5 separate regions of the Homo sapiens genome follow, and all the other regions are linked to region 5. The links are contacts of gene promoters, found by promoter capture Hi-C in blood cells and fetal thymus (Javierre and others, 2016). All regions are on one chromosome and are shown on one strand. The core of a region is centred on a gene start or on the middle of the fragment in contact, and the rest is flanking DNA. Distances in the headings are between cores, read along the strand shown.

What was found. The method cuts DNA at HindIII sites, captures the fragments that hold promoters and counts their contacts. A CHiCAGO score of 5 or more calls a contact.
Region 1: the fragment with the promoter of ACOX2 here is called in contact with the fragment with the promoter of PXK in region 5 in 17 of 17 cell types (naive B cells, naive CD4 T cells, total CD8 T cells and 14 more); the score reaches 22.9 in naive B cells.
Region 2: a fragment that was not itself captured here is called in contact with the fragment with the promoter of PXK in region 5 in 4 of 17 cell types (total CD8 T cells, total CD4 T cells, naive CD8 T cells and 1 more); the score reaches 6.4 in total CD8 T cells.
Region 3: a fragment that was not itself captured here is called in contact with the fragment with the promoter of PXK in region 5 in 1 of 17 cell types (naive CD8 T cells); the score reaches 5.9 in naive CD8 T cells.
Region 4: a fragment that was not itself captured here is called in contact with the fragment with the promoter of PXK in region 5 in 15 of 17 cell types (total CD8 T cells, naive CD4 T cells, total CD4 T cells and 12 more); the score reaches 18.1 in total CD8 T cells.

Annotation. Positions count from the first base shown.
Region 1 is chr3:58,533,168-58,538,465 of GRCh38, forward strand. It overlaps ACOX2 (acyl-CoA oxidase 2), which reads right to left and starts at 4,023. Exons shown (of 15, transcript NM_003500.4): 1 at 3,952-4,023; 2 at 1,780-2,030; 3 at 1,193-1,355; 4 at 827-978; 5 at 278-385. The coding sequence starts at 1,939. LOC107984079 (a long non-coding RNA gene) reads left to right here and starts at 2,205. Exons shown (of 3, transcript XR_001740724.2): 1 at 2,205-3,147. The HindIII fragment of the contact is 2,666 bases long and covers 2,325-4,990 here.
Region 2 is chr3:58,464,534-58,470,228 of GRCh38, forward strand. The region is part of intron 1 of LOC107986092 (a long non-coding RNA gene); the gene reads left to right. Among named protein-coding and RNA genes, the nearest start is that of KCTD6, 25 kb to the right of the region's middle. The HindIII fragment of the contact is 6,081 bases long and covers 1-5,628 here.
Region 3 is chr3:58,516,631-58,522,010 of GRCh38, forward strand. It overlaps ACOX2 (acyl-CoA oxidase 2), which reads right to left. Exons shown (of 15, transcript NM_003500.4): 13 at 576-793. Among named protein-coding and RNA genes, the nearest start is that of ACOX2, 18 kb to the right of the region's middle. RefSeq lists an enhancer at 4,122-4,639. The HindIII fragment of the contact is 4,163 bases long and covers 1-4,038 here.
Region 4 is chr3:58,495,314-58,500,674 of GRCh38, forward strand. KCTD6 (potassium channel tetramerization domain containing 6) reads left to right here. Exons shown (of 3, transcript NM_001128214.2): 2 at 3,400-3,469. The coding sequence starts at 3,443. Among named protein-coding and RNA genes, the nearest start is that of KCTD6, 5.9 kb to the left of the region's middle. The HindIII fragment of the contact is 3,629 bases long and covers 950-4,578 here.
Region 5 is chr3:58,330,601-58,335,689 of GRCh38, forward strand. It overlaps PXK (PX domain containing serine/threonine kinase like), which reads left to right and starts at 2,292. Exons shown (of 18, transcript NM_017771.5): 1 at 2,292-2,490. The coding sequence starts at 2,389. RefSeq lists silencers at 2,066-2,595, 2,842-3,136. The HindIII fragment of the contact is 5,516 bases long and covers 355-5,089 here.

The DNA.
Region 1 (5,298 bases), core at 2,773-5,272, 200 kb after region 5:
GTGAGTGAGGCCTTGTCTCTCATGGATCGATTGTCTCCTCTACTTCAAAGTTCCTTTGGGGACTTTCCAGCCACTCACTAATGAAATGTTTAATATCCCACCTATTTTACAGAGTAAGAACCTGAGGCTCAGGTTGGTGAACTGACTTGCCCAAGGTCAGCAGCCTAGAACAGAAAATCAATCTGAGGTCTGTTGGACCTCAAAGCCAGTGCTACTCTGCCCTCCAACATTCTTCTACTTGGGGAGAGTTAAGGAAGGGGGGTGGATGTATACTCACAGTCTCCAGGCCACCATTTGGTGGCAGTCAGCGTGGGGCTGTGTATCACAAACTCCTGGGTGGCTGCGTCATAGGTGGCTTCAGTCTCCAGGCCCTGAAGATATGTCCCTTAGGATCAAGGAGAGGTGTTAGACATTGGCCTGAGGTGGGGTTCTTACCTGTGAAGCTGCTTCTAGGTGGGTCTGAACTCTTAGGCATCAGCGCAGTATGGAGTGGGGCCCAGCTCCCAGCTGTACTTGCAGGCAGTTCTCCCCTTTCATCTGTGGGCTGTGTGTGGGACACACAGTCCCCTATAGCCAGTCCATGAGAAGGGGTGGCTGCTGATGTTTCCAGAAGGAATGACTTGCCCCACTGGGAGCTCATACAATACGTGCAAATTAGAAGGTGGCACCCCTTCCTCAGGACCCTTGACTGCCAGCTGCTGGAATGTTTTCTTATTAAACATATGTCCCTCGGAGCATATGAACCTATGACTACCTAGATGTAAATGGGCCCTCTGGAGTTTTGCAGTGCACAACCTAAACACCACACGCAGCAGTCCTAGCTCACCATGTCCCAACTCTGTCTGTGCATACGTTGCGATGATCTGGATGTTTTTGCAGAGTGGGTCCCATTTGGCAATCTGCTCCTCTGAGCCCAGGCTCCTGAGGGCTCTCACGAAGACTCTGTGTATATTTAAGGCCACGTCTCCAGAAAGGGCTCTGTTGGGGAGAGATGCTGTAGTTGAGTAGCTTATTGGAGACAGGGGCCCAGGTACCCCCTGCCTGAGCAGAGTACAGGAGATAAAGGGCACCTAGCATCCTGGTTTCCCAACAAGTCTTCCCTTTGTTGGGGGAAATGGCTCATGGGGCTAGGGGGTTTCCAGGTGATCCCAGGTAGATCCCTCTCTAGTGGGGCTGCTCGAGGAGTGAGCACCTGTAAGCGTAGCCTAATTCACGACCATCTTCTAACCAACCCAGGCGCCGAGCTATCAACCGGATGTGGAATGCCCTCCGCATGGCAGCCTTATAACGCTCATTCTGGGTCATGAAATAATTGTCCTTACAGCTAAACTCCGGGTAACTGTGGATGATGCTCTCTGCAGAGGACAGAGAACAGAGGGCTTAGGGACCTGGGTGAGGTTTCTGGCACCTTGAAATCTTCTCACCCACTTGCTTCATGGATCTGGAAAGGAAGTCAGACATTATTGTTATTTTACAGATGACAAAACTGAGGACCAAGGTGGGAAAGTGAATTGCCCAAGGTTACAAAGCTATGCAGTGGCAGAATTTTAGGACCAGAATCCAGGTCTTCTGCTGCCTAGGACTCTTCTATCCCCTAGGTGGGCTCAGGCAATATTGACATGTGAAGATTGTCTTTACAGTTCGAAGGAATGAATCTCTAACAGTGGAATTTCAAGGGCAAAGTTTGTTATTTGGAAGCAGAACTGCTAATGAAGGACTCTTCTTACAAGAGAAGCATGGGGCATAAAACAGATGTCCCATTCCCCAGCTTCCCCTTACCAACTTTCCTGCGGAGTGCAGTGTTCTGGGCACCTCCATCAAGGATGTTGGTGAGCCGTTCCACGTCAAAGGACTGCATATACCTCTCGCTCTCTATGTCGGGGTGCATTTGCCTGCTCCAGGTATCCCCCAATGACACTCGGTGCACTGGGCTGCCCATCCTATCCTGGATCTGTCTGGTGACTATGGAGAGACACTTCCAACCCGGCTGCTCCGAGGGTCTGCTCTCAGCATTGGTCAGTGCAAAGAACCTGTGTGCAAGAGGAACTGCCTAGGGCTGGGTGTCAGCCAGGGCTGGTTGGTAGAAGAAAGACATCCCTAAGTACCTGAATGCCACTCCACCTCCCCACTCCCCCTGTGGACACTGGCTGTGGACCAGGCACTGTGTGCATGGTAGGCATGGTATGCAGCCATTGCTTGGTACATGTTTGTTCAATACTTGTTAGCCAAAATTGGACAGGGCCTGACCCCAAAGATTGGGCTCTATCCACTGCAGTTTGAGTTACATGAATTGCCTAGGGAAATCTTCACAAAAAAGTCAGTGAAGCTTACACCTGAAGAAAATAATCCTGGAGAGGTTGAGTGGCCCCTAGCCACACAGCTGGAGATGGCCAGGAGTTGGATGGGGTCTGACCACAAAGCACATGACTTGTCCATACTACAGCTCCACTGTGGAGGATTGCTGGGGGCACCTTGGTCTCATTAAACTGCTCATAAGTTCTAGGATCACTCAGCTCCATTTCTATGAGCCCTGCAGGTATATTGTGGAACTGAAGGGAGGAAGCCTTCTTCCTGCCTGTGAAGTGTTCCCCTGGAGCCCCTGAGTGTCTTTCATACCCAGGTTGGACCCTGTCTCCTTCATGGCAAGTGCTTGGCCTCTGAGAAGCCCCTATTCCTCCACAGTGAGGCAACCATGAGGTGCAGTCCATCCTATTTCACAAGTCTCTTGAGTCCATCTGCTCCTTGCTATCTCTTTGGCTAGCATCCAGGCCACTGTTATCTCTTACTTGGCCTCAGTGTTCCTCTTATTTGTTCTCCCAGCTGCCAGGTGAACTCTTGAACTGCAAATCACATTGTTTTCCTCTCCTGCTTGGAATCTGCTCCTTGGGGCCCACTGTTTGTGGAATGGAGTCCTTGCTGTGTCTACCCAACCCTACTCCACTCACCTCTCTCCTATGTCAACTTACTGCCCTCATCCCTGGCCTCCACTCATTCTCTTCCTACCCTTTGCCCCTGCTGTTCTCTCTGAACAAAGTTCAGCTCCCTCGTTCCCTGGGTGCTCTAGGGTTAGGGACAAGTTCTTATTTGCTTACATGTTCCTCCCACAAGGCCTGGGAGGCCAGCTCTGCATTTCCTAGCTTGCAGCAGGTATGTTGTAAATCTCTCCGGCAGGCTGCCATGCTTTTGATCCCCTTCCTTCCTGACCTCAACCTGACAGATGCACTGCTGTTATTACCATTTTATGGAGAGGATGTGGGCCTTGGAAAGGGAGGAGACTTTATAAGGGTCATGCAACCACATGTAGCAAATGATTCATATGAGGCTTTCAAACCAATACCCCCAGCAGGGCTGTGGGGGTGCTGGCAAGGGGCCCCATCCTCTGCCCCCCGGAGTCCTGCAAGTGCCCCTAGTGCGGCTCCTCTCGTCCTGCCTTACCTCTTTTCCTTGCTCTGCTGCCACTGCCTCCTTGCTGTTCTGAATGCTCCAGGCCTCCCTGCCACTGCCAGCATTTGCTAGGGCATCTCCATCTGCCCAGAACACCCTTTCTTCAAATGTCACTAGGGCTTTTTGCATTGAACCTCATTTAACCTTAAAGAGGCCACCCTCTTTAAAACCCCAAGCCCCCTCCCCCGGCATTCCCTGTCCTCCTCACTCTGCTCTCCTTTTTCTCTTTTCACTTATCCCCTTCTGACATTTGAGATCATTTACTCATTTCATATGTTTTTGTTTACTTCCATCTCCCTGCTACTAACACAGAAACTGCAAGAGGGCCGGGATCTTTGTCACTGTCATGCCGTGACCCTAACACTTAGTGCAGGGCCTGATTTGCAGGAGGTGCCCAGTGAAGAAAGCCTTGCTCAGGGTCTCTCGGAGCTGCGGACAGGGTCATCATGGGGGCAGCCCTCTCCTCTGGGGTCTCCCAGTCCCTCCCTGCCCAAAAACCTGGCTCACCTGGCTCCCCTCTGTCCTGTGTCCGCACTGTAGGCCGGGCTGGCCTCTCCCCGGCTGTAGGCCGCAGCCTCTGGCAGGCTTGTGGTCCTGCCCTTCTCTCCTCCCACATAGGGGCTGGAACACAGAAGCTGAGAGAAACTGCTTGGCCAGCTCTCAAGCCCTTGTCTGCTCTCAAGCCCTTGTCTGCTCTCAAGCCCTTGTCTGCTCTCAAGCCCTTGTCTGGGCTTATGGAGCTCCTCTCCTTCCTCCCTCTCTTCCTGCATGGGTGTGACCTTTGTGCCTGTCGCTGGGGCTGCCCTGGGAGGACTTCTGGGAGGTTGGAGCCCTTACATCTCAAAGCCAGGGATTCCTTTGACACTACTTGTACCAAAAAGCTGTGTACCCCAGCAGTGTTTCCAAAGTGATATCCTGGTCTTCCCTGATCTTTCACTGTGTGCCCTTCAGGCACTCAAGCTGTTAATATCACACGAGCTTAATAGGCTCCCCTGAGATGGTCCTCATGTGAAAGGATTGCTCTGTAAGGTGTACGTTTTTCCTCTCTCCCCATGTTTCTGCTCTAAAATATGGCTTGTCTTATGCTTAGCATCCCCTGACATTCCCTGGAAAAATATTTGTGAAGCATCCATCTGTAGTGTGTGGGATCCAGATGAGAGCTGGGTCTTAGTGAGAGGAATGAGAGGCTTAGAGGTTCCCTCCCTGCATAACCACCTTGGAAAGTCAGATGCGGCTCCCCATTTTGCAGGTAAGGAAACAGGCTCAGGGAGGGATGTCACTTTGTTTGGGTTTGCACAATAAGTAGATTACGTAACACATTTGTGTAAGACTGGGAAAGAAATCAAGGGGCCAGTAGGAGATCAAGGCTCCTGTTCTGGCAGGACTTCTGAGCTATGTTGACTCTGAGCAGGTGTACTCCTTTCTGGGCCTTGGCCTCCCCTGTAATGCAAGGTATTTGCTCAGTAAGGAGCCTCACAGCACCCCATCATATCCCCAAGGTAGTGTCTAGCTTGTGTCTGTAGGAAGAGGCAGGACCTGTGGCCCAAGCTTTGCAACTTATCACCTAGTAGGTCCTTCTGGAGCTGTGGGGCTCAGACTCCTGGCAGTCCTCATTGCTGTGGGCAGTGGTTTCAGGGAAGGTGGTCTTGGCCCCACTGTTTGGAGGTGAAAGTTCTTACTTACACCTGGACTCATCTCCGCCAAGGATTTATGCTATCACTGACCATGGGCAATGACTTAGTTCCTCTCTGCCATAGAGAAAGGCTTGGATTGCAGGAAGTGCCCAGTGAAGAAAGCCTTGCTCAGGGGCCCTTGGAGCAAGGCTTTTTAATAAACTCTCCATGTTTAAATTGT
Region 2 (5,695 bases), core at 1,338-3,837, 130 kb after region 5:
AATTTTGGCTCACTGCAACCTCCACCTCCTGGGCTCAAGTGATCCTCCCACCTCAGCCTCCCAAGTAGCTGGGACCACAGGCACGTGCCACAACTCCTGGCTAATTTTTTCTTTTCTTTTTTTTTTTTTTTTTTTGTAGATACAGGGGTCTTGCCATGTTGCCCAGGCTGGTCTCCTGGGCTCAAGCGATCCACCTGCCTTGGCCTCTCAAAATGCTGGGATTACAGGCATGAGCCACTGTGCCCAGCCAGAAATGTTATTTTATTAATGTTGAACATGTACAGTAACTTGAAGCAGACTATTATTCTGTTTTCATGCTGCCATGAAGACATACCTGAGACTGGGTAATTTATAAGGAAAAGAGATTTAATTAATTCACAATTCCACGTGGTTAGAGAGGCCTCAGGAAACTTACAATCACGGTGGCAGGTGAAAGAAGTGAATGCTGAGCAAAGGGGGAAGCCCCTTATAAAACCATCAGATCTCGTGAGAACTCACTCACTATCATGAGAACAGCAAGAGGGTAACTGCCTCTGATTGAATTATCTCCACCTGGTCCCTCCCATGACATGTGGGGATTATGGGAACTGCAATTCAAAATGAGATTTGTGTGGGCACACAGCCAAACCATAGCAAGACTATTTTTGCCATTTAATTATTTAAAATTTTTTTGTTTTATATGTATTTTTTGAGACAGGGTCTCAATCTGTCACCCAGGCTGGAATGCAGTGGTATGATGTTGGCTCACTGCAACCTCCACCTCCCAGGCTCAAACAATCCTCCTGCCTCAGCCTCCTAAGTAGCTGGGACTACTGGGGCATGCCACCATGCCTGGCTAACATTTGTATTTTTTGTACAGACGAGGTCTCCCTATGTTGCCCAGGCTGGTCTGAAACTCCTGTGCTCAAGTGATATGCCTGCCTTGGCCTCCCAGAGTGCTTGAATTATAGGCATGAGCTACCGTGCCTCGCCCTCCCTCTCTCTTTCTCTCTCTTTCTTTCTTTCTCTCATTCTTTTGCCATTTAGAATGTAGATATAAATATCTATTTTAGGAATTTTGAGGCTCTTTGAAAAAATGTATATAGTGGCTTAAAACACAGATAAATATGACAACATAGCATAGCTGTTAAGAAAATCAGTTTTGATTTCAGGAATCTGCAAACACAGTCACAAAAACAATGAGTGATAAGATGATTCATGTCAACTATGATAATATTTATAACAGCAAAAAATGGAAATAACCTAAATATTCATGGGTTAGGGTCTGAATTTAGAAATACCTGGCACAGTCATGAAACAGAAAATTATAAAGATGTCAAAAGAATAAGGGAACTTTCTGTATATGAAAGGCATATCCATCTTTGCACTTCACCGGAATCTCTGCAAATGTTTATAAAGGGAAATCGGAGAAACCAGGGGATGCTTGAACCACAATTTAAAAAAAAAACTTTCTTTTTTTTTGAGACAGAGTCTTGCTCTGTCACCAGGCTGGAGTGCAGTGGTGTGATCTTGGCTCACTGAAACCCCACAACCCGGTTCAAGCGATTCTCTTGCCTCAGCCTCAAGAGTAGCAAGGATTACAGGTGCGCACCACCACGCCCAGCTAATTTTTGTATTTTTAGTAGGGACAGGGTTTCACTATGTTGGTCAGGATGGTCTCGATCTCTTGACCTCGTGATCCACCCGCCTTGGCCTCCCAAAGTGCTGGGATTACAGGTGTAAGCCACTGAGCCCAGCTAAAAAAAACCTTTCTATTTTGAAATAATTATAGATTCACAGGAAGTTACCAAGAGAGTACAAAGAGGTCCTGTGTGCCCTTCACCTAGTTTCTCCAATGGTTGCAGCTCAGGTAACTATAGCACAATATCAAAACAAGGCAATTGATATTGGTACAGTGTGTGGATAGTCCTATGCTATTTTGTGGCACGTATGGAATTGGGCAACCACCACAATAAAGATGCAGAACTAGCCAGGTGCAGTGGCTCACACACTTTGGGAGGCCGGGGTGGGCGGATCATGTGAGGCCCGGAACTCAAGACCAGCCTGGCCAACATGCTGAAACCCCGTCTCTACTAAAACACAAAAAATTAGCCGGGCATGGTGGCTCGCGCCTGTAATCCCAGCTACTTGGGAGGCTGAGGCAGGAGAATCGCTTGAACTGGGGAGGCAGAGGTTGCAGTGAGCAGAGATCGCGCCATTGCGCTCCAGCCTGGGCAACAGAGCAAGATTTTGTCTCAAAAAAAAAAAAAGAAAAAAAGAAAAAGAAAATTAGCAGGGTGTGGTGGCCCACACCAGTAATCCCAGCTATTTGGGTGGCTGAGGCACGATAATTGCTTGAACCTGGGAGGCAGAGGTGGGAGTGAATTGAGATTGCACCACTGCACCCCAGCCTGGGAGACAGAGTGAGATTCTGTCTCAAAAATAAATAAATAAAATAAAATAAAATAAAATAAAATAATTTGTATGTGTCAGATGAAGCAAAAAAGAGAGGTCAAGGCTAACCTTTTGTTGGAAAGCTACAACATGTTGAACAGGCCACCTGTTGTACTCTTGGCCTCTGTCCCTAGCTTGTTCTCTGTCCCAAGGCTCGCTCATTCTGGAATGTTCTACTCTCACATTCCCAATAATAAAGGCATTTAGGGTTCATAGAGAGCCATTTCAGAACCATCCCACGGATGGATCGCTGTACCTACACACCCACCCTCAGTCCCCCAACTCTGAGCCTCACATTAAAATAATGTTTTAATCCATCTATCATCCTCCCCTGCTTCCCTCTAGGGCTTTACTTGTTAGAGCACAAGGGTGAGGTCACACTCACCTGCGTTAGGAATGCAGGCTCCAGGGTCATGCTGCCCTTTCTCTTGTTCTTGGGCAAGTAACAACTCCTAAACCTGAATTTCCTCACTTACACACTTGAGGTGATAGATAACAACAGTACCAGCCAACAAGGTCACTCAGTTATTCTGAAAATATAGAGCATCTACTATGAGCCAGCTGAGAATATGCTGGGGAGGAAAGACAAGGCCCTGCTCTCAGGAAGCACCACAAACAGAGAAAACAGGAGTACACAGCTCAGCCCAGTCTTCAGCACGTGGCCAGCCTTTAAAAAATGTTAGTTGTTTTAATTTTTATTATATATATATTTTTTGTTGAGATTGAGTCTCACTCTGTCACCCAGGCTGGGGTGCAATGGCAGGATCTCAGCTCACTGCAACCTCCGCCTCCTGGGTTCAAGTGATCATCCTGCTTCAGCCTCCTGAGTAGGTAGGACTATAGGCGCGTGCCGCCATGACCAGCTAATTTTTGTATTTTTAGTAGAGACGGGGTTTCACCATGTTGGCCAGGCTGGTCTCGAACTCCTGACCTCAAGTGATCCGCCTGCTTTGTCCTCCCAAAATGCTGGGATTATAGGCGTGAACCACTGCGTCTGGCCTGCTTTTATTATAAATATAGTCACACACAATACTTATTTATGGACTGAAATGGAATATGAACCCGGTATCACACACTTGGCCTAGTATATTCTTATTCATTATCAGACATTAATTATGGTTAGCTGCTAAGAGCTGTGCTGGTGTCTCATGCCACCATGAAAGTCAGCTCAGTTGCTCACCAAGAGCACTCATTTAATGTTTAAAATCTAGGATAATTTTCTGAATTTAATATCTTGAACATCAGACTCAGTAAGGGTCTCTTGCTGTAAACATACAACTTTGAAGAAAGAGTCTTTATGTAAACTTACAAAAAAGTATCTTACAGTTTGTCTGAAGGTTGATATATTATCAAAAGACTCCCACACAATAAATAGCAATTTCATTGCTTAGAATATACATTTCATAAATAATCAGAAATATGAGATTTAGCAGGGGAAAAGCCCCTTAGAGGAAGTTAATTTTTTAAATCGTTAAAAATGCCTAAAATGTGACTAAAAAAATAAAAAAGAATAGGGCAGCTGAATAAATGCAAAAACTCTCAAAAGAGGTCTGAATTCAAGGCAAACTGTTCATTATGCAAATTAGTCAACAGGTGAACTGGTCACCTGGCAAATTTATCATTAGAATACCTGGCTCTGGGGCCGGGCGTGGTGGCTCACCCCTGTAACCCTAGCACTTCGGGAGGCCGAGGCAGGTGGATCATCTGAGGTCAGAAGTTTGAGACCAGCCTGACAAACATGGTGAAACCCTATCTCTACTAAAAATACAAAATTAGCCAGGCATGGTGGTGCATGCCTATAATCCCAGCTACTCAGGAGGCTGAGACAGGAGACTTGCTTGAACCCAGGAAACGGAGGTTGCAATGAGCTGAGATTGCATCACTGCACTCCAGCCTGGGCAACAACAGCCAAACTCCGTCTCAAAAGAAAAAAAAAAACAAAGAATACATGGCTCTGGTCACAGTAGTCTGTTCCTGGGGCAGGACCAACGTGGCGGTCATGGGCAGTTTGGGCATGTTGGGAAAAAAAAATTTTTCCTCAACTTTCCTAAGTTCTTAGTTGGAAAAGACCCCTGTAACAAAAGAGATTAACAAGAGAAAAGCAAAGCAAACAGGAGTTTATTAATGTATGTATTTTATATATGTTAGAGGAACCCCTGCTTACCAGGCCTCTGGTTTAATAACACATGACCAGAATGACTCCCTCTTGAAGTGAGTAACTGGGCACTCATAAGACACTTAAAAGGTTAATATTTAGGACCTGAAAATAGCCACACTCTAAGCTGACCACCAATTATAATTACAGAATATTTATGGCCCTACAGAGCAGCTCCCACTAAGCCTGCAGAATGTCCAGATGTCCTAAGCACGGAGCGAATGTACTTAAAGATAATGATAATGAGCAGGCTTCGATTGAAGGATTAATGGTCATTGACAATACTAATAGCCACTACCTTTAGCGAGCACATCTGCACATTTCAAGTTTAATTATAGCTCCTTATAGTTTCTTATAAGTAGAGATGCTAACCAAGGATGGCATGTTCCTCCTCCTGCTTTCTGAGGATGCTCTACTTGACTCTGTAACAGGGTGGTTTCCAATAAACTTGCTTCTTTCACTGTGGTCTGTGGCTCTCCTTGAAATTTTTTTTTTTTTTTTTTTTGAGATGGAGTTTCGCTCTTGTTGCCCAGGCTGGAGTGCAATGGTGCGATCTTGGCTCACCGCAACCTCTGCCTCCCAGGTTCAAGCGATTCTCCTGCCTCAGCCTCCCGAGTAGCTGGGATTACAGGCATGTGCAACCACGCCTGGCTAATTTTGTATTTTTAGTAGAGACGGGGTTTCTCCATGTTGGTCAGGCTGTCTTGAACTCCCGACCTCAGGTGATCCGCCCACCTTGGCATCCCAGTGCTGGGATTACAGGCGTGAGCCACCACGCCCGGCCTGCCTTGAATTCTTTTCTGCATTAGATCCAAGAACCTGTTCTTGGGGTCTGGATCAGGACCCTCTTTTCCAGCAACATATATACATGGGGGATACCCAGGGAATGAGTCGTTCTCCAGGAATTCCAGCTTATATAGCATCTCCAACAAAGAACAGTGAATGTTTAGAGAAGTGACAAGACGGGAAAAGAACTTGAGTCTCCAGGGGCAGTAACTTGTGGGAAGGCAAGTAATTGGCAGATAAAGGCCAGTGAGTGAAGCTTGTTCATGTCGATTCCTCTGGCGTCATCTCCAGGGGCCCATGAAGGTCTCAAGTTGTCTTCAG
Region 3 (5,380 bases), core at 707-3,206, 190 kb after region 5:
AGTTGGAGACCAGCCTGGTCAACATGGCGAAACCCCATCTCTACTAAAAATACAAAAATTAGCTGGGCATGGGGGTGGGCACCTGTAATCCCAGCTACTTGGGAGGCTGAAGCAGGAGAATCACTTGAACCCAGAGGCAGAGGTTGCAATGAGACAAGATTGTACTACTGCACTTTAGCCTGGGTGACAGAGCCAGTCCCTGTCTAAAAAAAAAGAAAAGAAAAAAAAAGTTAGCTATGGTTGAGACTATTATTAGCACATTAGCACATATCATTCATATGTAGCATGCTTCATTTTATTGATTTTCCTTAGATACTATTCCTATTTCCTTGACAATGTAAAGAGTTCAACTGAGGTAGCTCATTTATTCTTCAGTATTTTTCCCATTTTTTCCCATTTTTTTCTTTCATTAATTCATAATGCTTTATGCTGGTGTAATGATAATAGGGTGTAGACCTCTCCAGGGCTGTTGCTGCTCTGCCCATTAGCAAGGTTTTGGAGTTGGAAGTGACCTGTGAACAAGGGGTAGGGTTATTCTCTGAAGACTAACATGGTTTGAAGTCTCTGCCACTCACCGGATCAGGCGGAGCAGGTCCAGGTAGGCTGTTCTTGCCATGTCCACTTGGGCACCAGACAGGAAGGCGTCATGGAGAAAGTCACCCGAGTTAGTCAAGATTCCATGTATGGCATGGAGGTCACAGAGGCGCTTGAGCACCTGCTGAATCGCTGGTTCATTTTCTAGTTTCTCCAGAGCTTCTGTAAAACCCTTCACAGTGACATAGTAGCAGTGCACCTACAAAGACACAAAGATATGTTCTCCTGATTTCTGGTTTTCTACTCCAGAAGTCACCCTGGAAGCATGGCAAGATGGCTGGAATAAACTTGAGGCATGATGTGCTTCCCAGCAGGCTGATGAGCAGCTGCCTTTTCTCCTAGCTCTGGGTCTGATCAAGGCGTTTTGATGTTGTGTATATGTGTGTGTTGGGGGGGGGAGCGGGGACGGGGGGGACTGGTGGGCTTTGAAACATGGCCCTTGTTTTCTTTTGCTTGGAGCGGTTTCAAGTAGGTTGGAAAGTAGAAGGAAAGAATACAGGCATATTGGAGGCTGGCCTGGGGAAGGTGGAGGACAGCACCACTGTTCTTAAGAAATTAGCTATTTTAAGGCTGGGCGCGGTGGCTCACGCCTGTAATCCCAGCACTTTGGGAGGCCAAGGTGGGTGGATCACCTGAGGTCAGGAGTTTGAGACCAGTATGACCAACATGGTGAAACCCTGTCTCTACTAAAAATGCAAAAATTAGCCAGGCATGGTGGTGCATGCCTGTAATCCCAGCTACTTGGGAGGCTGAGGCAGGAGAATCATTTGAACCCAGGAGGCGGAGGTTGCAGTGAGCCAAAATCATGCCATTGCACTCCAGCCTGGGCAATAAGAGCAAAACTCCATCTCAAAAAAAAAAAAAAAAAAAAAAAAAGAAAAGAAAAGAAAATAGCTATTTGTTGTCTGCTGTGTTCAAGTCAGTGGTGTGTGTGTGTGCGTGCACATGTGTGCACCATGGGGTGAGAAAGTTTCAAGATATATATGAAATTTATTCCAGCTAGAGTATAAACTCCTTAAGGTAAGCAGTGCTGTTATTTAGCCCATATGTTATGGTCTGGCTGTGGCAGTTGTAAAAATAATACTTTAATACCAGCTGGCAACTGTCCACTGCCATCAACCCTGTGAGAGCCCCTTCTGCCAGATGGACTCCTTCCCGAAGACCCCCTCCTTCTCTCCACAGCCCAGCAACTAAAGGATTAATGTTTGACTCAGCAGGAGGCCTTCAGGACCTTGCTTCCCCTAGGGCTAAAGTCCATTTTGATTGGTTGGTGCCTTGTCCTACTGGTTGTAACATATTTTGAACAGTCCGCATCTCGTCAAGACAAGCACACACAATTATTTTGTCAGGTAGGATATATGAGTTCTATAAGGGAGAGCAAGGAAGAGAGAAAGTATAAAGCAGTGCTTCTTAATTGTTTTTTCTGAGATAGAATCTCACTCTGTCACCCAGGCTGAAGAGCAGTGTTGCAATCTTGCCTTGCTGCAACCTCTGTCCCACTGGGCTCAAGTGATTCTCCCACCTCAGCCTCCTGAGTAGTTGGGACCACAGGCACACACCACCATGCCCGGCTTTTTTTTTTTTTTGTATTTTTAGTAGAGACGAGGGTCTTGCTATGTTGCCTACACTGGTCTCGAACTCCTGAGCTCAAGTGATCCTCCTTCCTTGGCTTCCCAAAGTGCTGGGATTACAGGCGTGAGCCTCTGGACCCCGCCCTGCCTCTCAGTTTTTTATGTGCATATAGATCACCTGGGGATCTTGTCAAAATGCAGATTCCAGGGCAGGGCCTGAGACTGTGCATTTCTAACAAGGTCCCCTGTGATGCCCATGCTGCTGTAGTGATTTTCAGTAGCAAGACTTAGAGTGTCTTGGGGGTTCGGCTGGGCGCGGTGGCTCACACCTATATCCCAGCACTTTGGGAAGTTGAGGTGGGCGGACCACTTGAGGTCAGGAGTTCGAGACCAGCCTGGCCAACATGGCAAAACCCTGTCTCTACAAAAAATACAAAAATTAGCCAGGTGTGGTGGTGCACACCTGTAATTCTGGCTACTCGGAAGGCTGAGGCACAAGAATTGCTTGAACCTGGGAGGTGGAGGTTGCAGTGAGCTGAGACCGTGCCACTGCACTCCAGCCTGGGTGGTGGAGTGAGACTCTATCATAGAAAAAAAAAGAGTGCCTTGGGGGTTCAAAGGAGTTCACCCAGGCGGACATGAGTTGGGGGAAAGGTCATTCCAGGCAGGGGGAGCTTTATGTGCAAAAGGCTGTACTTTCAGGAAGCTGCAGGCAATTTAATGAGGCTGAAGTGTGGTGGTATAATGAGGTGATGATGGGGAACCATGGAGGTTAGGGTGGACTCATACCTGGGGCCCAGGTCAGTGAAGGGCTGTGAATAACATGGTCAGAATTTGCTCTGTGGGACTGGGAGTCTTCAGCTGGGCAGTGACCCGATCCGCTTTCTCACTTGGAAAGAACTTGTGTTTCCTAGGGGGCCCTCACACAGGTGCTGACAACTCCACTTTGCCATTCAGACATGGTGTGCTCACAGCCATGCTGGGCTTGCAGCATTTGGCTGTGGAAGGTGAGCAGATGTGCTGTGTTGCCTCTGCTGGCTCCAGTAGCCTTTGTTGCTCAGACTGGGTCCAGCTTGGCAGAACTGCGGACCCGCACTCCTTTTCCTGTCCTAATCTGAGAGCCACATCCTCAAATGCTCAAGGCTCTGAGTTGAGGAGTGGAGTGATGGAGAGCTGCCCAGGGGCCTGGGCCTTAAAAAGCAGGATGAGGATCAGAGACAGAGGTGACCTCTACACTTTGGGGAAGGGCTGAGCTGAACCTTGGCCCCACGCTCTGAGCACAGTGAACATTATTTACATTGTGTGTGTTGGTTTAAATCTTGCCTCCTGTCTAATTTGGGGGTGGGGGTGCTAGCTGCCTCTCTAAGTTTTACTTATTTAATCTTTATTAGAATCCTACAAAGTAGGTACTGTTATTAGCTCTATCTTGCAGACGAAGAGACTGAGGCTCTGAAAGATTAAGTTTTTTGCCCAAGGTCATGGCTAGGAAGTGGTAGCAGTGAGATCCACACCAGGGCTGTATTCCTAACCCTGTGTGGCCAAAGCCACAGGAGACTGAGGCTGGATTATAATGAGGCCAGCATTTGTTCCCATGGTCCTGGAGACTGACATCTCTTCTGGTCAGAGTCTGAATTATAGGACCACGGCCTGACAGAGCCTAAAGGGCTCTTCCATGCCCCTTTGTCTACAGACAGGGAAGTTAAAGCCCAGAGAGGGAAGGGGCTGCTTGAGGTCACACAGAGCTGGGACCAGAATTTAGCCCGTGGCTCCCCCTTGTCTACTCTTCTGGCAGTATCATCCCCTCTTCCCTCAAGTTGCAGTTATCTCTACCTGCACATTTATGGTTTCTAGATGGGGCCCAGTTGGGTGCTGAAGCTTTCTGTAGACTAAATAACCCCACAAAGCACAGAGAGTACAGAAAGCCCTATCCATTATGACCTTGGAGACTCAGCTGGGGCACCACCTCCCCAGGAAGCTGTCAGGGACGTGTTCTTCCCCCGCAGGCTGGCTGGCTGTCACCCTCCATCCCCCCAGAATTTGTTGCTCACCTCAGTCACTCATCACACCCTCAGTGGTGTGGGAAGGGAAAGCATCTGGACTCAGCTATTTCCTACCTCTGGGACCTAAGTCCTGAGTTCTCTTTCCTCACCCTTGAAGTGGAAATAATGTCAGTCTCCCTCCCAGGGCTGTGTGGATTAAATGAAGTAACCCTGGCAAGCAGCATCTGGTCCATTTGAAGGCAGGCCATAGGTTTGGAAAATGAATGAGTGGATAATGGGTGGCTGTGGTTTCTGTTTTGGTGATCCAGTGAAAGCAGGAAGCCTTGGCTCACCCTCTGTGTTGACAGGACAGTTAGCACAGCAGGGGGTGCCCCTGCTGTAGGCTGAGCAGAACTGAGGGCTGCAGAGGTAATCCCATCACGTGTGGTGTGGTGGAGGTGGTGGGTCACGTGGTGGTGCTCAACGTCCAGCCTGCCTGACCAGCCCTGTCCCACGAGGGCCTCTGCAGCCCTTCAGGGCTCTCCTGTTCCAAGGCTGCCATTTTCTGGGTCTGAGGCCTGAGGATTGGCGTGATCACTTTAGTTTTCCAGTTATTGGCGGTGCCAGAGTCCCAGCTGCCTAAGCTAGAACTCAGGAGTTGTTCTTACCTCTTTCCCACCCCAGCACTCTGAGGCCTGTCCCTGCCTTCTTCCCCCTTAGCATCTCTGATCTACCCACTTGTCTCCAGGCCTTCTGCCATGCTCATGGTCAGGACCACCCTCAGTCCCGGTTCAGACTTGCTCCTTTCTAACTTGCTCCCTTTCATTCCATCCTGGGCAACCTGCATGATTCTTCTAGAATGAAACTGATCACTTTACCCCACCTCCAAACAAACTCAGCAAAGGCATTGCAATGAAAACAAAACCCCAACTTTTCACAGTGGTGCAAAAGGTCAGAGGCCTTGCCTGTCTCTCCTTCTCCCCTAGTCTCAGTCCTTCTCCTTAGGTCCTCCTTGGGAGATTTGCACTTCCTCCCAAGCACACCAGGATCCTTCTTGCTGCTTCCTTTTGCACGCGCAGCTCCCTTTGCCTGGAAACTTTTCTCTCCAAAGCTGCCACCCCACCCTTTAGCTGGCTAATTTCAGCTTATCCTTGAAGTCTTAGCTGATATGCCACTTCTTTTGGGAAGCCTTTCTGACTCCTCCAGGTGGGCAGAAGTGTACCTGCTCTGGGATTC
Region 4 (5,361 bases), core at 1,514-4,013, 170 kb after region 5:
AAGCAAATGAATCATTTTCTAATTGTTAGTAGCTCTGGAAAATGATTCAGTAGAAGAGATTGAAACTATTCTGGAAATTCTTTGGGATTGTATTTCATTCATCTGCATCGTTTCAGAGATGTTCCTAATGGTCGTCAATTCAGAATTCAGAAGCCGATCATTATCCAGCTATTGGATAACAGGGAATTTTTCATGCTTTTTTTTTGTTTGTTTGTTTCTTGCTGTATTTAAGCATCTCCACAGAAGATATTTAGAAGCAGGTAGAGATAAAATTTAAACTAATCAATACTGTTTTTTCCCTTTGAACTCTTTAATGCACAATTTGATTTCTTTAGACAGTTTACTCATTGTTATTGGAAGTGACTAATAGTAACTTTGCTTCAATTTATTTTGATGTATCTTATACACAAGTATAGGAAGGCTTTTGGGTGGTTTTTAAGAAACATGGGCTGTAGATTCCCATAATTGCTTTCCTGAATTATTAAGCGTGAGCTTTCATTACATCTTTGTACCGGAACTTTTGCTTTTGCTGTGGAACAGATTCAGGGACATCGTCTAATTTTTTTTTTTTTTTTTTTAGATAACTGCTCAAGAAGTTACCTTGTTTTGATTTAGCAGTAAAAAAGAAAAAAAGGGTTAATAGTGGACAGACTTTTCGTTAACGGCTGCAACATTGATGTCTGCTTTTTTCCTTGTCTTTGATCTTCTGTTTCTCATTTAATCATTTGGATATTCACGGATTGGAGTTCTTTATGTCACTACAGACAGGACAGCAACCGTTATTCACACTAGTTGAATGGGTTCCTGCCTTTTTTTGGTGGGGGGGCCTCAGGAGAATTTTTACAAACCCATTATGACTGTTTAGTTAGGCTGAGTTACTGTAAAATTTGTAAATAAAACCCTACTGGATGGATAGGGTTAATAGATGGCTATAGAGAGTTTAAAGTTAAGCTTTTTCAATTTCTTGTCTCTTGGATTCTGTTCTTTCAATTTCTACCCTAGGAGGGGATTTATGGAAAAATCTAGACTAAGAGTCAGAACATGCAAGTTCTTATCTAGTTACTTCCCAGCTGTGGCGCCCTCAGCTAGTCACTTAATCTGCCTTGTTTCTCTGTTTTGCATCTTTAAGATGAGGATAGTAATCCCTGCTCGGCCTACTGGTATCAGGAATGTTGTAGGGGGAAAAAAAGTCTTTCATGCCCCTGTCTATTAAATTGTTTCTTCCTTCTAGAATCCCTTCTCAGGTTGTCCGAATTTTCTTTCAAGGATTCAACTGAATGGGCTCTTCCCAGAAGTCCTCTATTTCCCATTTGAAATCTTGCTTTTCCCCTCTCACGGGCCTCTGCTGGTCCATCTGTTATACAGCACTTTGAATTCTGTTCTGTACTTCAGTCATTGCATGTTGCCTTCCATTATAGATGGAAAGCTCCATGAGGGCAAAGATTGTCTTTTTCCTCTTTCTGTGTGTCCGCATTGCACATAGGCACCCCCTCCACTCCATAGGTGACCCACAATAATTGTTGGCTGAATGAATGATTATTGAGGCTGTCAGAATGAATACTTTGGGTGATGGGAAAATGCCAAAGATGAGCATCTTACCAGAACTTTTGGATGAGTGGCCTTTTAAATTGCTCAGTTACTAATCTGTTGTTATCAGTAACTGAATCAGATCCTGGCAAGACAAATTGGCAAAGCCCATTTCTTGGTCCTGTTTACTTCGGATACTATTTGTGAAGCAAGTCAGAGGAATGAAAGACTGTCATAACAGTCTTGAATTTGACATTTGTTCCATTTCTCACCCCATAGCATGTGGAGGCCTGTCTATATCCAACTGCTGAGTGTAAAGAATAAAAACTGACTGCCCCATAGTCTGGTCCACATTTTAGTTGTGTGCTTTGAAGGATTTGCAAGGTAGAGAAATAGATGCTTCAGGCTCTGATTTCAGCCCATGCTGTGCTATGCAAATGTTCTCTACATGCCTGAGTGACCTTTTGAGAAAGAGCCTTTGTGATCTTCTGTAGCTAGGGCTTGTTCTGGGAATTCTGTGCCAGATTCCTCTAAAAGTGGGAAAAGTGAATCTGTTAAAGGACCACGTAAAAAAGCCAGTGCTTTTCCTGGATGAATACCAATAAGTCCATGTTTCTTACCATGTCTTGCCAGAGCTTTAGAAATTTGCTCTGCAGTTTGCTTTACAGGTTGATTTGGGATTGAAGTGTGTGAGAGGGAACTGACTAAGGCAGTTCAGTAGCTGGGAAACTGTTTGTTTAAATGCTTTTGAATTGTAGATAAAAATAAATTCACATTGGCATCATTAGTATCTGAGCATTTCTCAGTGTCTTAAGGCTGGCTCTCCATGAGTGCTGGCTGATTGACTCTCATCTATATCGGTAAGGTTCTTTTTGCCCCAAATTGTGCTCTTTAACACTTCGGCATTTAAATCACTTTCTATTTGTTTTAATTGTACAAAGAGAAATACATCATTATTTAAAAGCATCATCTTTTTTTTTTATATTGTAAGATAAATACCATTCTGATGTATTTCTCTTGGAAAGGGATGCTGGTATCCTGGGAGGTTTATGATTTTTGATGTTTTTACTCAGGTGATTGGCTTGTATAGCTGAAATGCTGATGAAAAGGAGTTTTCCCTTCTCCCTTTTTCTTTTCTTTTCTTTTTTTTTTTTTTTTTGAGATGGAGTCTCGCACTGTTGCAGGGGCTGGTGTGCAGTGGCACAGTCTCGGCTCACTGCAACCTCCGCCTCTCGGGTTCAAGTGATGCTCCTGCCTCAGCCTCCTGAATAGCTAGGATTACAGGTGCCCACCACCACGCCCAGCTAATTTTTTGTATTTTTAGTAGAGATGGGGTTTCACTATGTTGGGCAGTCTGGTCTTGAACTCCTGACCTGGTGATCCTCCTGCCTCAGCCTCCCAAAGTGCTGGGATTATAGGCATGAGCCACTGCGCCCAGCCTGTCCCTTTTTCTTAAATGACCTTTTTGGTGAGGACCATTATAGGTTTGTACCAGGATAAGGTTGTAGAGTTAATCATAATATTCTCTTATATAAATTCTAAAAATTGATGTTCTAAGAAGAGAGGTAGAATTTGAATGACTGGGTTACTTCCTAGACTCTTCCTCCTTCTCTTAAGTACAGTATAGTTCTTTCTCTGAAAATCTTCAGTCTCTTAGTTCCAGATGGGTTCTCTATGGTAAGAATACAGGACATGTAGAAGGCCCTAGGGGAATGCTTTCTTCCCCAGATCTTTGCCCTGTAGTAGGTTTCAGCTGAGCAAGGACGAGTAGTTTTTCTGGTGTTTGGCCTCCTCTGTTGGGTGGAAAAAGACTTTCTTCTCTATTTTCCTAGTTATATATGCTATCATATGTCTGTTTTTCTCCTCTTGAAGTTTCCCTGAAACCTGGGCTCTTGAAGACGCATCACTGGAGCAGATGGATAATGGAGACTGGGGCTATATGGTGAGTGCTTCTTGGAGATGCATTTTGAAGGCTGGGGAATTATTTTTGTGTGTCTTTTTATCCTTATGTATTTTTAGGTATATCTTATAAGAAAAGAAAATTGTGAATTTGTGTAACCTCTCTTCCCCCTTTTACTTAGTTTAGATGTATTTTGGAGGCGTTTTTGTCTTGTGTGGTGTTTTTTAAATTTTTATTTAATTTTTTTTATGTGGAGTCTCGCCTTCTTGCCCAGGCTGGAGTGCAGTGGCGCGATCTTGGCTCACTGCAACCTCCACCTCCTAGGTTCAAGAGATTCTCCTGCCTCAGCCTCCTGAGTAGCTGGGATTATCAGCGTGCACCACCACATCTGGCTAATTTTTGTATTTTTAGTAGACACGGGGTTTCACCATGTTGGCCAGGCTGATCTCGAACTCCTGACCTCAAACGATCCTCTGCCTTTGTTTGGTGTTTTAATGGAATCAAACTCAAAATGGATTTTCCAAATACTTTTTATAATCACTGGAGAGGTAACGTGATTTTTTATTTTTTCAAGTGTGTTGCTCTGAAGACTCTTTCTTCATGAATAGTGACTACAAAGGGATCTAGTGAGTTTGGAGGATATTTTGTTGTGGTTTGGGAGATTAATGGTTGAGAAAGTGCCTCTTCTCCCCACTTGCATTTTTTGTGTGTGCATATGTCTCCCTATTTTTCTATTCCTTTGGTGTAAGGTATATTTTACTTGCCTATACCTGAAGTCTCTGTCTGCCTTTCTTTTTTCTTTCTTCCTTTTTTTTTTTTTTTTTCGAGACAGGGTCTTGCTCTTTTCCCTAGGCTGGAGTGCAATGGCGTGATCTCGGCTCATGACTTTCCAAGCTCAGGTGATTGTCCCACCTCAGCCTCCTGAGTAGCTGAGACGATAGGTGGGCACCAACATGTGTGGCTAATATTTTGTATTTTTTGTAGAGATGGAGTTTTGTCATGTTGCCCAGGCTGGTCAGCAACTCCTGGGCTCAAGTGATCCACCCTCCTTGGCCTCCCAAAGTGCTGGGATTACAGGTGTGAGCCACCACACCTGGCCTATTTTTTTCGTAAATAGTATTTCTAAAACTGAAGGTATGTTTTTTAAGAGAAGCTTGCTTCTCAGAATTAAAGGCCAGATTGCAGCATTAATGTTACAAAAGTGAATACACTATCAGATTATGAAATTTTATGGCTGCTGTAAGCTTTTGGGTATGTGATGCTTTTCTGGCTTGGTTGTATTGACTAAACTGTATATTTTAACTTAGTATTTGAAAGTATCACTTCCATGAAAAAGTTACCAAGATTAGGTCTGCACAGTTTTTAATTTAATTTAAATAATTTTTTTTTTTTGGAGACAAAATCTCTCTGTGTCGCCCAGGCTGAAGTGAAGTGGCATGATCTTGGCTCACTGCAGCCTGTGCCTCCTGGGTTCAAGTGATTCTCATACCTCAGCCTCCCAAGTAGCTAGGACTACTCAGGCCACCACACCCAGTGAATTTTTTTTTTTTTTTTTTTGTATTTTTAATAGAGATGGGGTCTTGCCATGTTGCCCAGGCTGGTCTTGAACTCCTGAGCTCAGGCAATCTGCCTGCCCCGGCCTCCCAAAGTGCTAGGATTACAGGTATGAGCCACTGTACCTGGCCCAAATTTTTATTTTAAAAACAAATTTCATAGTTTGTTCCTTTTGTTTGAGGGGGAGAAACCAAAGAAATATTGAAAGTAAATGTCTATATTATCAGATCATTTTAATTCTATCTAATGTTAAATTAAATTCAGAAAAATGCAAGCCTTAAAAAAAAATCAGAAAAAAATAAGTGTATTTTAGCGTGGCTTTTCCCTTCCCACATATATTCTGGCCTGAAAACTCTATAGATAATGGGCCTGAAATGATT
Region 5 (5,089 bases), core at 1,042-3,541:
TGCAGTAAGAGAAAAGAGCCTTGTCTTGGTCAGTCCACATCACAATAGGAGTAATGATTATAGCTGGATTTTGGTTTCTGTGACTCTGGCAGAGAAATAATCTATTTGCCTTAAAACAAAGAAATGAAAGTAAAAAGTTGAATCCTCCCTAAATGACATATGGTTTTGCTTTAATAGACTGCTGCTTTTAAACACACTGGCACAAAAGTGGAATGGAGGGAGAGTTCTGATTATTTTAGGGCTGAATCATGAAGGTCCAGGATTCCTTCTTCACATCTCGCTCTATTAGATCTTGGCCCCTGGGACCAATCTCATGGCTACTTGACTCAACGGGGCTGCCCACCAATCCCAATAAGCTTGAGATCTGGAGAAGGGACCCTTTATGTATGATGTGGGCCTTTCCTGTGATGTCAAATTTTGGTGGTGGTGGTGGGATTACCAAGGAACTTTGTTCCCTTATCTGAAGTGTAGAAATTTAGTGGAGGCAAATTTAAGAGTTAGGAACCTTCCATTCTGTCAACTGTAGGGGAAGGAGGAAACTAATATTGACTTTGTTTTGTTTTTTTTTTGTTTTTCCGGAGACGGTCTTGCTCTGTTACCCAGGCTGGAGTGAAGTGGCATGATCATGGCTCACTGCGGCTTCAACCTCCTGTGCTCAAAAAACTCTCCCACCTCAGCCTCCTGAGTAGTTGGGACCACAGGTGTGAGCCATCATGCCCAGGTATTTTTAAAATTTTTTTGTAGAGACGGGGTCTCACCATATTGCCCAGGCTAAACTCCTGGACTCAAGCCATCCACTCTCCTCAGCCTCCCAAAGTGCTGGAATTACAAAGGTGAGCCATCATGCCTGACCACGGTTTGAGGTGTTTTTGTTTGTCTGTTTTTTTGTTTGTTTTTTGAGACAGAGTCTCACTCTGTCACCCAGGCTGGAGTGTAGTGGTATGATCTTGGCTCACTGCAACCTCCCCCTCCCGGGTTCAAGCAATTCTCCTGCCTCAGCCTCCAGAGTAGCTGGGTCTACAGGCACGTGCCACCATGCCCAGCTAATTTTTATATTTTTAGTAGAGGGGGTTTTGCCATGTTGGCCAGGCTGGTCTCAAATTCCTGACCTCAGGTGATCCACCCACCTTGGCTTCCCAAAGTGCTGGGATTACAAGCGTGAGCGATCATGCCTGACCACCGTTTGAGTTTTTACTATGTGCCAAGCCCCTTCCCAGTCTACTGCATTCCTTGTATTAACCTTTTCATACAAATAATATTATCTCCACTTTGCAAATTGGGGAGTTGGGACTCAGAGAGGTTGGGTAACTTATTGAAGATCACACAGCTGGTAAATGCCAGAGCCATGGAGATGATGGTCCTCCAATTCTAAATTTAACTCTTCACTATCCTGGAATGCTGCCCTAGGAGAGGGCAGTGTGGGTGAAATTTCTAGGTGTATATGGAGATGGGGGGGATGAGGTGGTGCCAGGATTATGGCTTTGGGTTCAGGCAGACTGTGGGCAGATTTAGGGCTGAGAAGTTGATCCCAAGGTTCTCTGGCTTGGCTCTTGGTTTGAAGTTCTTCTAGTCCATATGGTGGGATCAAAAACTCCCAAGTCTAAGGGATGTGGTTGAGCCCGCAGTGGGGGCCAAGAGTAGAGGCTAGGGGTCTCTGGACCATTTTATAGGGTCTCCAGTTCTTAGAGCTTGGGTCTGAGGGTTCTGGGGCCCAAGACCTCCAATTATGGGGTCCAGCTCTTAGGTGTTCAGGCCTGAGGAGCCACGTTCAAGAGTCCCTGTGAAGTTTCAATAGGAAGGGCTTGTTTCAGAAAGTCTCTGGGTTTGCAGGGCTCAGACTGGGGGTCCCATCCTAAAGGCCCTTTTTCTGAGTTTTAGGGTCCTTGGGCCTGGGGGATGAGAGAGATCCAGTTCTGAGGGTTTCAAGAGGTACGGTCCCCGAAAAGCCCAGTTCTGAGAGGCCTGGTTTGGAAATCTCGCCCTGAAGATTCCTGGATCCCAGGGCTCAGGACCAGGCGTCTCTGGATCTGAGGATCCTGGTAGTGATGGCTTAGGGTGGTGTTCCCTGGTCCGAAGCCCGGAGCTAAGGGCACCGGGTCTGCGGTGCGGCTGCGAGGAGCAGGGAAGCGCAGGCCCATGGCAGCCGCGAGGCGGAGGAGCGGGCCAGCGGGCGGCAGTGCTGGCGGCCCCCACACGTTCTGCGCTGGGTCGGCGCTAGGACTCCGGGGCGGCGGCCGTGGGAAGGGCGGCGCTAGGACCCCGCGGGCCCGGCGGCGCGTGGGGCGGCGCGTGTTGACAGCGGCGGCGGTGGAACCGGGCGGGCGGCGGGAGTCGGCGCCTCGGGTTCCTACCTCGCGTCCCTAGGCGGCGGCGGCCGGGCGTCCCGGGATGGCCTTCATGGAGAAGCCGCCAGCCGGCAAGGTGCTGCTGGACGACACGGTGCCGCTGACAGCAGCCATCGAGGCGAGCCAGAGCCTGCAGTCCCACACGGTGCGCGGCCCAGCGGGCGGGCGGGCGGCGTGGGGCGGCCCCGGGCCGCGAGGGGGCTGCGGGCTGCCTGGCGCGGGCCGGGCAGGGTCGTCGGACGGAGACCGGGCCACAGGGTGGGCGGCCCTGGCCGAGAAGGCTGTGGCGCGCCGCTGGGTCTGGGTCAGGGCCCCTGGGGCCCAGGCGAACGCTGAGGCCCGGAGGGGCCAAGGATGGGGACCGCAGCTCCCGGCGCCGCGGGGTGGAAGGAGCTCGGCGGCGACCAGGAAAGCGACTCCGAGTTGGGGGGCGGGGGCGGGGGCTGCGGGATTCCCGGGCTCACCTTGGACTAGGGGAGCAGGAACGAGACCGCTCAGGACCATCCACTTCTGCCCGCCGCCAGCCTTTTCCTTTTTGAGGCCGTGTAATTTCCTCCTTGCAGCTGAGGGTCTGGGTGATGGGGATGAGGGTGTGCCGGGCCAAATGAAGTGTGACTCCAGAGCCTACTTGTTGGGACAGCAGAGTGTAAGTGGCTGGGGTCTGCAGCCCCGTTTCCAGGTCAGCCGCTTGGCCCTGGTCCCGGGAAGTGGTGGGGGCGGCAGTCGGGGCGCTGTTAAGCAGGTGTATGAATGTGCTTCTCTAACTTGCTCTTTAGTGGGCAGTGGTAGCATTCATTTGAGTTTAAAATCCACTCGAGTAGCATAAAGGAGTAATAGGTCCTCATAGTAAACATTGGCAGGGTTCATTTCTGCTACATATACGGTCTTTTATGGGGCTTTAAAACCGTGGTTGTTTTCATTTGCTTGTACCTTTTTTTTTTTTTGAAAGGCCCACTATGCATTATAATTTCCAAGCAATAAATCTAGGAACCAGCAAGAAACCTGGAGCTATCAGCTAGTGGGACTTTTTTGGAAAAGTAATGAGTGAGGAGAGAGATTCCTTCAATTGTGATGTTTTGTCAGTCCACCGAATCAGATTCAGACTCAGAGGCTTGTTTGTTTACCATTGCAGTGTGTTTGGGGGGTCATCATCTGGAGGCTAAAGCTCACAATAGCCTTCTGTTTCTCTTTTCGTTCAAGCTCTTCTGATGACTTCAAAGAGACCTTTTATTCTGTTGTATTAAAGTGAGACTTTTTTGAACCTCAGTTTCCTCTTCTGACAGCCGTGCTTTGTAGGGCTTGAATTGTTCAAAGCATTCACTTCCAGTTAAGAAAATTATTATCTTTTTAAAAAGGGCTATTTATTTCACGCTGTGTGTCTTTAATCCTATTCTGTAGACATGTGAGAAGGCACATACAGGACAGAATTTGTTAAACTTGCTATCATTTGTGCCTAAAGGGAGTATGGCATAAGGGTTGAAATTTAGGATAGGGAGTCAAGAGTAATTCAGCTATTAAATTTGATTTTTGACTTGACTATTGGCAAGTAAGTCTTATAACCTTTCAGGGAATAGTGTCGAGTCCTTTAGGTTTATTTTGTATTGAAAATAAAGAGATAGATGTTTCTAAATACTCACAAATTACTTTCCCTAGGAAGCATTCATGATTTCTACAGCCCCAGCCCATGTGCCTACCCACACCTTAATCTTGATTAGTTTGTCCTGTAATTACTTCTTTACTTTTTGTCTCCACCAGGCTACAAGAGGAGGGGCACTTCTTCCTCACTTTTGAGTCTCATTCCCTGGTTTTTGATAGGATTTCAAATGTGTTTATCAAATGACTAAATAATCCAACTTCAACCTTACTATGCCTCTTTTTCTGTTTATGTAAAATGGTAATTGTAAACATTGAAAAAATAACTTAGAGATCAGTGCTTTAGCTAGGTGGCGAAAGATGTAATAGGATTCTGTTTTTATTGTAAGGGTGTGTGTGTGTGTGTGTGTGTGTGTGTGTCTGTGTGTGTGTGTGTGTGTGTGTGTGTAGAGACAGCGTCTCACCATGTTGTCCAGGCTGGTGTGTGTGTGTGTGTGTGTGTGTGTGTGTGTGTGTGTGTGGAGACAGCGTCTCACCATGTTGTCCAGGCTGGTCTGGAACGCCTGGGCTCAGGCCGTTCTCCTGCCTCAGCCCCACAAAGTGCTGGTATACAGATGTGAGCCACCACACCTGGCCCTGCAGATCTTTTCTTTAAAAAATAAAATAATTTAGGGTAGAAAATGGCAGTTCTTGTAGGGATGACTGACCACAAAAGACAGTGACTCACAGGAGACCCATAGAGGCAGATGTGGTAGAGTAAAAAACTGTAGCATTGTCTTGCGTAATTTTTTGACTGTTCTGTGTTCTTGTCATTTTAGCTGTAAAGTTTGACTGAGAAATGTTGCATCAGCCCTGAAGTTTATTGAGAAAATCTTACGCTGATGCAAACTTTTTGGACTGTTAGTGTCTTATGAGTAAGTCTTTTTTAAAACAGGAACTGTTGGAAATTATTTTGGAAAGAAGTAGTTGTTAAGAGGGGTATGTAGAAGAGAAAGGCACTGTTTTTTCTTGGGGAGATTGAAGTTGGCTTTCCAGCTTGGTAGCTGAAGGGAGATGGTGTTCCAGAAGTCAGAGCTCTACTCTCGCTTTGAAATGCTGAATCTCTAGGAAGTTACTCCTTGGCTGTAGACAGAAACATACGGAGTTAGAGA